Linked DNA regions of Homo sapiens: all the other regions are linked to region 2. The links are contacts of gene promoters, found by promoter capture Hi-C in blood cells and fetal thymus (Javierre and others, 2016). All regions are on one chromosome and are shown on one strand. The core of a region is centred on a gene start or on the middle of the fragment in contact, and the rest is flanking DNA. Distances in the headings are between cores, read along the strand shown. Region 1 has its middle 12 kb from the start of TMEM121. Region 2 holds the start of JAG2 (jagged canonical Notch ligand 2). Region 3 holds the start of CRIP2 (cysteine rich protein 2).

Region 1 (3,112 bases), core at 484-2,983, 370 kb after region 2:
TTTAATGGTAAAAATTAGCATACCCCATCACCAGGAATGGCGTGGAGTAGGGACGGGCAGCAGGGACAGGCAGGTGACCCCTGTGGAGCCTCACGTGGCGAGGATGAGGAAGACGACCACCAAACAGAACAGCCCCATGGCCTCAGACACAGCAAAGCCCAGAATGGCATCGGAGATGAGCTGCTGCTTGAGAAACAGATTCCCGGCATAGCCAACAAGCTGCCAGACACCGTTCCAATGCCAGGCCCGAAGCCAGCCACACCGACAGGGGCTGCCCCAACACCAATCAACGTGGCTGCTGTGTCAACATCCCGGGAGACAGCTCTGGTCTGGAACTCCCACCTGGCCACCTGGTGTGGGGAGCGGCTGTAGGAAGGCTGTTCAGATGAATTTTCTGGGCTGTTCAAGAAGGAGACAGACACAGCCTGATTAGACCCGTGGTACAACAGCGGACCAGAGCTGGAGAGGTGAGTAATGCCCGGGGGTCTGCATTTTCTGTCTGCACTCCCACTGCCCTGCAGCACCTGCGGGCCCACAGCACTCGCCCGGCTGAAGGTGACCTAAGGTGACCGACTCACTTTTACTCATTGCTTATGAAATAAGCTGAATGTGGAGATCATCGGAAACATGTTTCAAAGTGCGTGAGCCTTGAGGAAAGCTTTCTCCCGCCCTCATGAGTATCCGCCCCAGGGGGTGCTTTCCTCGAGAGCTGGTCCGTGTTGCGTTCCCACAGTGAACACTTTCAAGGCTGCTGCGGGAAGTTGCACAGAAACGGCTGGTGGGCCTGGAGGGGATGGTGAGGCGCAGTGGGCCTGTGTACCGGATGCCAAATCCACAGCATGGGAGGCAGGGCCCACTGCAGGAGCCACACAGCAGCTGTGTGCTGCTCTCCCACCTGCAACCTGCACCTGTGGGGTGCACCTGAGTGACCCCGGCCCCCCGGGGTGTCTCTGGGATGCCTCCTAGGAGGAGAGGCTCCACGCCTGGAGGGAGACAGGTATCACACAGGTGCGTGGGGTGGAGTGTGATGCAGGGAGGTTGGGGCAGGGCCACACAGAGAGACCCCACTCAGGCAGGCCTTGGGTCAGGGTAGGCCTCACCAAGTGATATTATGTTGGGACTGGACCGTGGCCAAGGCTGGCCTGCAGGCAGGGGGCACACATATTCCTGGCAGGTGAGGCTGCCCACAAAGCTCACCTGCCTGAGAACCCTACCTGGCTGGGGCATGCGGGAGCCTCTGGACCTTCGCGCCGGCGGAGCCTGCAGTGTCGCCAGATGGCCACAAGGGGGCTCCCGAGCCCGGCTCTGGGTCCCTTTGAGGAGGGAGCCGCGGGACCCGGCTGTGAGACCGGGACCTGCCAGTGGTGCCCCGACCCCCCGACCCCACAGGACCCTGCGCGGCCAAAGGCTGAGGCTGCCCCAGCCCCAGGCTGTGCTGATGCCCCTGACCAGAACCCGAGCCCGATTCTGCTCACTGAACACTCATCTGCTCCCTTGCCTCTGCCTGCCCCGGCAGCGAGGGCCTGGCCAGTGGGTTCGTATCAACTCCCACGTCACCTCCCGTGTCATCTGTGTGTCACCTCCATGTCACCTCCTGCATCAGCTGTGTCACCTCCCACATCACCTGCATCAGCTGTGTCACCTCCCACATCCCCTGCATCAGCTCTGTGTCACCTCCCACATCACCTGCATCAGCTCTGTGTCACCTCCCGCATCACCTGCATCAGCTCTGTGTCACCTCCCGCATCACCTGCATCAGCTCTGTGTCACCTCCCGCATCACCTCCTGCGCCACCTTTGTGTCACCTCCCGGCTGACCATGGCCCAGCAGCATCTCCCTGTTGCAGCGTCCGGAGAGGCTGCGGTTGCACGGGGTGGGCTAAGGAAGGTGGGGCTGCCTCAGCCTGGGCCCTGAGTGAGCTCTGGAGTGGATCCCACCTCCCCACCAAAGCCCAAGCAGGAGACAACCCTTTGCTGCTGAAGCCACTGAGCGCTTGGGGCTGTTTGTTTCGGCCTCGTCCCCGACGGACGTGTCTCCCACAGTCCCAGGCCCTGAGTGCAGGTCCACACTGAACCTTGACGCTCATCGCAGACTGACCCTGGCTTGCCCTGGGTCACACTCGGGCTGAGGCCCCGACAGCCTGGCCCGGTCGAAGCTCCCCGGCTTATCTCACTCACTGTTGTCCAGGGCCCAGCCTCACGGTGACATCTGCCACAAGAAGGCTGGGACTCTGTCCCACTTGTGTTCAGGAACGAGAGACCCTGACTTGGTGTCTGTTATCAACACATTACAAACATCACTGGGCATTACAAAAGATTTCTGAGGGCTGGGTGCTGTGGCTCACCCCTGCAATCCCAGCACTTTGGGAGGCTGAGGTGGGAGGAGGATTGCTTGAGCCCAGGAGTTTGAGACCAGCCTGGGCAATGTAGTGAGACCTTGTCTCTAAAAAAATTTTAAAAATTAGCCAGGCATGGTTGCGCGTGCCTGTGGTCCCAGCTACTCAGGAGGCTGAGGCAGGAGGATCACCTGAGCCCAGGAGGTCAAGGCTACAGCAAGCAGAGATGGTGCCACTGCACTCCAGCCTGGACAACATAGCAAGACCCTGTCTCAAGAAAACCCACACAAAACACAAAGAAAGAAATAAAAATCCAGATTTCAAATAATTTAAACTTATTTATCCAACACAAAGCAGTTCTTCATGGCACACTTTAAACTTCGAAATTCTTTGCTCTCCCCATGCTTGGCTGATTGGGTCTGGGGCAGGCGATGGTGCTCACTGGATCCAGTTTCTGACAAATCTGGATTGAGACAAGCTTCAGAACTGGCCCAGATGATCAATTTTCATATAAGTTAAGGTGTCCTCCTTGTTCCACAGCTTTTAGTGATTTTTTTTTGTTTTTTTTTTTTGAGACGGAGTCTTGCTTTCTCGCCAGGCTGGAGTGCAGTGGTGCGATCTTGGCTCATTGCAACCTCCGCCTCCTGGGTTCAAGCGATTCTCCTGCCTCAGCCTTCTGAGTAGCCGGGAGTACAGGCACATGCCACCACACTCGGCTAATTTTTTGTATTTTTAGTAGAGATGGGGTTTCACCGTGTTAGCCAGGATGGTCTCGAT
Region 2 (3,185 bases), core at 560-3,059:
CACCTACCACTACCCACCTGCCAGCCCACTGGGATGAGTACCTGTTTCCCAGTGACACTGGACCCCTACCACCCCTCCTCCCAGCACGCCCAGGCCAGGGCTCCTGCCTGACTGGCCACCTGCCAGGGGAGACCAGACAGCCCCGACTCAGCTTCTGCCCCTCCAGAATAACAAAACCAAAAAAACCCACAAACAGGGCAGTGCCACAGAAGGTCACTGCACCAGGATCCACTATCTCTGTCTCTGAACGATCTTGGGTCACCATCGGGGGCTTCTGCCGACATAAGCGTTAGGCGTTAGGCTCTCCCGGGCCTAGGTCCCACGGCGCCCGCCCGTGCCCCCCAGGCATCCAGGAAACTGCAGGGCAGGCGCAGGCTGGCCACGGGCCCGGGGCGGCTCAGTCAGGGCCTGCCCTAGACCAGCCCCAGCACGCGCTGCGCACATGCCACCGCGGCCTGCCCGGGACCGGGGCGCCTCGCCTCGCCTCCCCACCCAGACAGACACGCGCAGGGCGACGCAGGCACACGCCGCACACCGCCGCGCACGCGGGACGCCGCCGCCCCGCCCCCGCCGCGACCCCGCTCCCGGTGGCCCCGGGGCCCCGGCGCGCCCACGTGGCCAGGCGCGGACCAAGTCCCCAGAGCACGCGCCCCCTGCCGGCCCCGCCCCGCCTGGGCGCGCGCGGCTCGCACGCAGACCCGGCCGCAGGTGTTGGGGGTCGCGAAGCGCGCGGGGCCGGGGCGCGGAGAGAGAGGGAAGGGCTGGAGCACGAGGGATGGAGCGCACGTACCGGCCAGGCGAACTGGAAGGGGATGACGACGAGGCCCGGGTCCTGGTCGCCGCCGGCCCGGGCCCGCGCCCGCGCTCGGTCCCCCGCAGCGCCCGCCGGCGGCAGGTAGAAGGAGTTGCCGCCCAGCACGGGCGTGGCGCCGTGGCCGTAGCTGCAGGGCCCCGTGGGCGTCACCTTGGCCTGGTACTCCTTAAGGCACACGCGCACGTACGTGTCGCACTCGTCGTGGCCGCAGCCCCCCGCGCGCGTTGTCCGGCCGTCGCCGTCACAGCAGGCGCCGCTCAGCAGCTCCCCGTTCACGTTCCGCAGCGCGCTCAGCTGCAGCTCGAAATAGCCCATGGGCCGCGCCGCCTAAAAATAAGGCAGCGGGAGAGCGGAGGGAGGCGCGGGCCGGGGTCGGCGGGCCGGGCGCCAGGGGTGGGGGAACAGGCCCCGCCGCCCCGCCCCCACCCAGCCGCGCCCGCCCGGAGCCCCAGCCGCCGCGCGCAGCCTCGAGGGCTTCCGAACCACGGCGGCCCCAGGCAGTGCCCGCCCGGCCCCTAGGGGCGGCCCGGTGTGCCCCGTCCGCGACCCCCGCCGCCCCCGCCGCCCCGCTCACCTGCACCCAGAGCGCCAGCAGCAGCAGCAGCCGCCGGGGAAGGCGCCCCCGGCCCTGCGCCCGCATTGCCCCCGCGACCCGCCCGCCCGGCCCCGCCGCCGCCGCCCGCGCCCGGCTCCCAGCCGCCGCGCCGGCCTCCCAGCGCCCGCCCGCCCTCCGAGCGCCCGCAGAGGCAGCGGCAGCGGCAGAGGCGGCGGCGGCGGCGGCGCGGGCGGGGTCGAGCGCAGCGCCGCGGCGCGCGGGCCTGGGCGGCGGGCGTGCAGGGGCGGCGGCAGCTCCGGCTCGCTGGCGGCCGCGCTCCGGCTGCCCGGCCCGGCTCCCACCCGGCGGCGACGGCGGCGGCGGTGAAGGCAGCGGGTCCCGGCCTCGGCTCTGCGCGCCCGCGCTCCCGGCACCGCAGCCAACAAGTTCGGAACGAGACTGACAGCTCGCTCGCCCATTCGTCACCCGCGCACCTGCATATGCATGAGGGGGCGGGGCCGCGCCGCGGGGTGGGGCCGGGGGGGGGTCCGGGGGCGCCCCAGGCTTTAAAGGCGGTGGAGGGCGTCGCCTGCCAGCGCCCCGGCCCGGCGCGCGCCCCCCAGGGCGCCCGGGCGGCGGGGGCACGGGGCCTCGGGGTCAGCGCGGGCCGCGGGGGCCCCGCTCACACCTCCGCGTGAGTCGGCGAGGCGTGCGCCGGCGCCGCAAAGCTGCCTCCCCTCCTCCGCCTGGGCTCCTGCCGGGTGTCAGAAACCGGGGGTGGGGCGCCCCGAGGTTGCCGTGTGGTCCCCTCCCATCAGTGCGCCACCGCCGCGCTCCTCGCAGTCCCAGAGGAGATGCCGCCTCCTACTCTGATCAGGGCTCGGCCCCCACGCGGGGTGGCGCGGCCCTGGGGCCAGAGCCGGGCCCAGCCCCTACTGCGCGCCCCCCACCTCCTCCGAGAATCTCCCCTTCTCCGCGCCGCTCCTACCGCCTCCACGCCGGCTGCAGGGGGCGCTGCGCCCCTCCGACGCCCCTGCCTTCCCCTCTGCGAGGCGCGCTGGTCAAGCAGCCAGTCAACAAATGCTCCAGGGTGCAGACTGCTCAGCTCGGCGCTGGCGTCGAGGTAGCCAGGCCATGCCCTCAGGAAATGCTCAGGCCACATTCCCCGTTTCCCGCCTCTCGCCCCCCAAACTCAGGTCTGGGCTTGGGGGGCGAGAGGCGGGAAATGGGGAACAAAAGTCGGCAGTGCCTGTCCCTGAAGGCTACCCCGAGAGAGGCCTCCCACTGCTGCCCTGGTCACCAGGCTTCCACACCCCATCCTCTGCGGTCACCTCCTTGCCCTCTCCCTGGGTGACCTCGCAGCTCCTCCACAGGGTCAAAACCAATGGCACCTTCCTCTCCTCCAGTGAGCACGGTCCTTTCCAGAGCTAGGGGTCACCTTGGTGGTTAAAGATCCCCATATGGTCCAGAGGGGTCCTCAACCCATCCCCATGATAACTGAGCTGTCTTCTCTCCCCCTAGCTCCTCTCGCAAATTTGCCCTGTGCCCGGAGCTGGGTGGCTGTGCAGCCCCCCAGCCTGGAGCAAGTCACTGCCACCATGCTGCTGGGGCTGAGGGCTGAAGGAAGAGAGCTTTGGAGGCACAGGGCCTGTGAACACCCCATGCGCAGGGTCTGCCTGCTCCATCCCTGTTTAGCAGCTCCTCCAGGATCCAGGCCGCAGGCTCAGCTGAAGGTCCCTAAAGGGGTGGGTGGGAGCCCCCCATGCCCACCTCAGCTGGCTCTGCTCAGAGTGCCCACCCCAAACTTGGTGGTGGGTAGGCTTCGTGGGGATTAAG
Region 3 (2,936 bases), core at 29-2,528, 310 kb after region 2:
AAGACACAGGGGGAAGGGTGTCCAGAGTCAGCTGCCCCCATAGGGCCTGATCACTGGGCTTCTGGGATCTGCCTGTCTCCCAGGCCGACGCTCAGCTGGGGCCAGAAGGCTCAGAGAAGGGCCCATGGGGACAGAGCACCAGGAAGCCCGTGGGTGCGGAGGTTCCCCACCTGGGGCCAGGCTCTACGGGGCTCTAGGGCGGAGGCACTGTGGTGAGGCGTGGTCAGGCACGCCCTGGTTGGGAGGAGGCCAGAGTGGGGGTGTGGGGGTGCGGTGACTGGCATGACCCCTCAATCTCCCGCCTGACCCCTCGAGGTCAGGCCCTGGGCCCCCAGGCACGCAGCTGGTCCTGGGCGGTGCGGGAGAAGGGACTGGAGTGTCAGCCCCAGCCCGGGGCACAGAGGGCACGCCCACTCCTTCCCCTCCTTCCCTTCCTAACTCCTCACCGCCTCCCCGGCCGCCCCCTGGGTGGAAGTGCTTGGGGTGGACGCCTTAAGCGCGGATCCCTCGGCGCTGGTGCCCGCCGCCCCTTCCCTGCCTGGGAGGCAGACGCAGACCTCCCCACACCCCCTACCAGCAGCTTCTCGAGCTGTTTCTGGAGGTGGCGGCGCCTTCCTTCCTGAGCCCTGCCCTCCACCCAAGGAGCCTTCAGCACCACAGACAGTGTTGGGGCGGGGCGCGGGCGGGGGCGGAGCGGGACATGGAGACCCGGACAGGGCTGGGGGCCGTGCCCGCCGGGAATCTGACTCCGCTCCCGCGGCGCGGCTGTTGCTATGGAAACCGAGCAACAAAGGGAAGCGGGACAGGCGCCGCGCGCGGCGGGGTGGGGGTGGGGTTCTCCCGGAGCCTGCGACCCCTTCCCGCGGCGGAGCGCAGCCTGGGCGCCCAGGGCCGGGAGTGTTGGACCCCTAGGCCCAAGTCACTAGGGCTCCCCGAGAGCCGAGGGCCAGGCTCCCCGCACCCTGCCCGCCGCCCCGGGGACGGCCCGGCCAGGCGGCCCCGACGTCGCCATGGAAACAGCCGGGGCGCGGGCGGCGCCGCGGTCGCCCGGGCGGGCCCCTGTAGACGCCACCTCCGGCGCGAGGGGCCCGGGGGCGCCAGGCCTGGCCCGGCTGCCCCGCACCCGCCACCCCCGGCAGGTGCGCCCCGCCCCCGCGGCGCCCCCAGGCGGCCCCCAGCCCGGGGGACGGGTTATCGAGGCCCCGCCCCGGCCGCGGAGCCAATGGGCGCGCGGACAGCCGGGCAGGCGGGGCTGGGCGCGGGCGGCGGCGGCCCGGAGGAGAACGGGCGGAGGGCGCGGGCCGACCGGGCGCACCGACCATGGCCTCCAAATGCCCCAAGTGCGACAAGACCGTGTACTTCGGTGAGTGCGTGCCCGCTCCCGGCCCGCTCGGTGCATCCCGCCGCCCTTCGCGGCCAGTCCCGCGCCGCAGAGCCGCGGCGTAACTCGGGGTGCGCCCGGCCCCGGCCCCGGACCGAGGATGCGCGTCCCGGAGGCTGGCTGGCCGCGCTGCCCAAGCGGCTAAAGCCAAAGGGTGGGGCTGCGCGAAAGCGGGGGCGGTCACGCCCGAACCCCGAAGCGGCTTGTGGGGGCGGGGCAGGGACCACCCGGGCGGGGCTTGTGGTGCCCCGGGATGAGGCCAGTGTTTGGGGGAGCGCTCGGGGATCCGCGGACGCATCCCGGTTCCTCGGACGGCGCCGGGCGGGGCGGGGCAGGGCGTGGCTGTACGCCCCGGGTGCGTCCCGCGCGCTCCCGTGGGCCTGGGCCCTTTCTCCTGGACCCCCTACACCCGCTTCCCCCGGGAACAAGTGGCCGGGAACAGTGACCCCCAGCTCCCACTCCGGGCTCCGCTGAGCTGGGCTGGGCCAGGTTTGGACTCTGTCGGGATTCAGTCCAAGCGGGGGCGACCTTGGCCTCTGCCTCCTGCTTGTCCCGACGCATTCCCTTGGCGCCAGTTCCCCCAGGAGTTTCACACGGGGGTAGGGTGGGGGCGGGTGTGACACGCGAGTTCCCGCGAACGTGAGAGGGACCTTGTGCTCAAGCAGCCCAGGTGTCCAGGATCCCTGCCTCCTCAAGGTCAGAACAGCCCTGGACAGGATGCAGGTGGTGGCGGGAAGAGGGATGTCTCGCAAGGCGGCCCTCGGTCTAGCCCCTCCGGCAGGCGCGCTCCCCCCGTCTGGGCTTACTCACTCTCTGGGCCTGGGTGCGCCCTTCCTACCCCCTTCCTCCTGGCTGATTCGCTGCCCAGCTTTCTCCAGGGTGGTAAGGTCCCTGCCCACCTACCCACCAGCTGCTGCACGAAGGGGGGCAGACTTAGTGAAGCAGAGAGGAGGGCCGGGACCAACAGGGCGCCTGCCCTGGTCGCCCCATACCCAGAATGCGGCCAGGCTGCAGGGAAGGCCGCCACTGGGCTTCCCCGGCTCACAGGCTGGAGGGGGTTGAGGGGAGGTTGTATTTTGCCCGTCCCAGAGGGGAGGGACCGGATTTGGCCTGGAGTGCTTCTGGCGTGGCTGGGAGCCGAGGGGCTTCCGGCTGCCTCTCCTGGAGCCCGCTCAGCCCTCAGTCTCTGTCCCAGCGAGGGCTGTCTCTGTAAGGCTTAGGGTGGGAGACGGTCCCCAGGGCCCTTCTGCAGTCCAACTGCCCATGACTTTACCCCAGGCCGGGCCAGGCCAGCCTGGGGCTCTCCAGGGTCTCGGCCAACAGTCCTGTGGACAGCCCGGAAAGGCCTGCCTGCCTGGCCCGCCCAGCCTCTCAGCGGAAAACAAAGGCGCTTCAGACCCGGCTGGCTTCTGTCCTGCCTGGGAGGCACTGTGAGGGCGAGGGTCCAGAATCCTGCCCACCCTCACACCAGGCTGCCCCCGCAGCTCATACCTGAGTAGAACCCAGGCTGGGATGTCGGAGCACATTGAGGAGGCCACCCCAGAGCCCATGCAGC

Evidence for each region. Contacts are between HindIII fragments. The CHiCAGO score rates a contact against its expected background, and 5 or more counts as called.
Region 1: a contact is called between a fragment that was not itself captured here and the fragment with the promoter of JAG2 in region 2, in 4 of 17 cell types (total CD8 T cells, naive CD4 T cells, naive CD8 T cells and 1 more). The highest score is 7.1, in total CD8 T cells.
Region 3: a contact is called between the fragment with the promoter of CRIP2 here and the fragment with the promoter of JAG2 in region 2, in 3 of 17 cell types (monocytes, non-activated CD4 T cells and total CD8 T cells). The highest score is 7.9, in monocytes.

What each region holds. Positions count from the first base shown.
Region 1 is chr14:105,536,760-105,539,871 of GRCh38, forward strand. It overlaps the pseudogene ATP5MC1P1. Among named protein-coding and RNA genes, the nearest start is that of TMEM121, 12 kb to the left of the region's middle. The HindIII fragment of the contact is 2,155 bases long and covers 657-2,811 here.
Region 2 is chr14:105,166,967-105,170,151 of GRCh38, forward strand. JAG2 (jagged canonical Notch ligand 2) reads right to left here and starts at 1,810. Exons shown (of 26, transcript NM_002226.5): 1 at 1,389-1,810; 2 at 791-1,141. The coding sequence starts at 1,454. RefSeq lists an enhancer at 532-1,031. The HindIII fragment of the contact is 17,945 bases long and covers 1-3,185 here.
Region 3 is chr14:105,473,543-105,476,478 of GRCh38, forward strand. It overlaps CRIP2 (cysteine rich protein 2), which reads left to right and starts at 1,279. Exons shown (of 8, transcript NM_001312.4): 1 at 1,279-1,363. The coding sequence starts at 1,321. RefSeq lists an enhancer at 1-253 and silencers at 282-331, 342-431, 522-671, 942-1,011, 1,192-1,301. The HindIII fragment of the contact is 47,861 bases long and covers 1-2,936 here.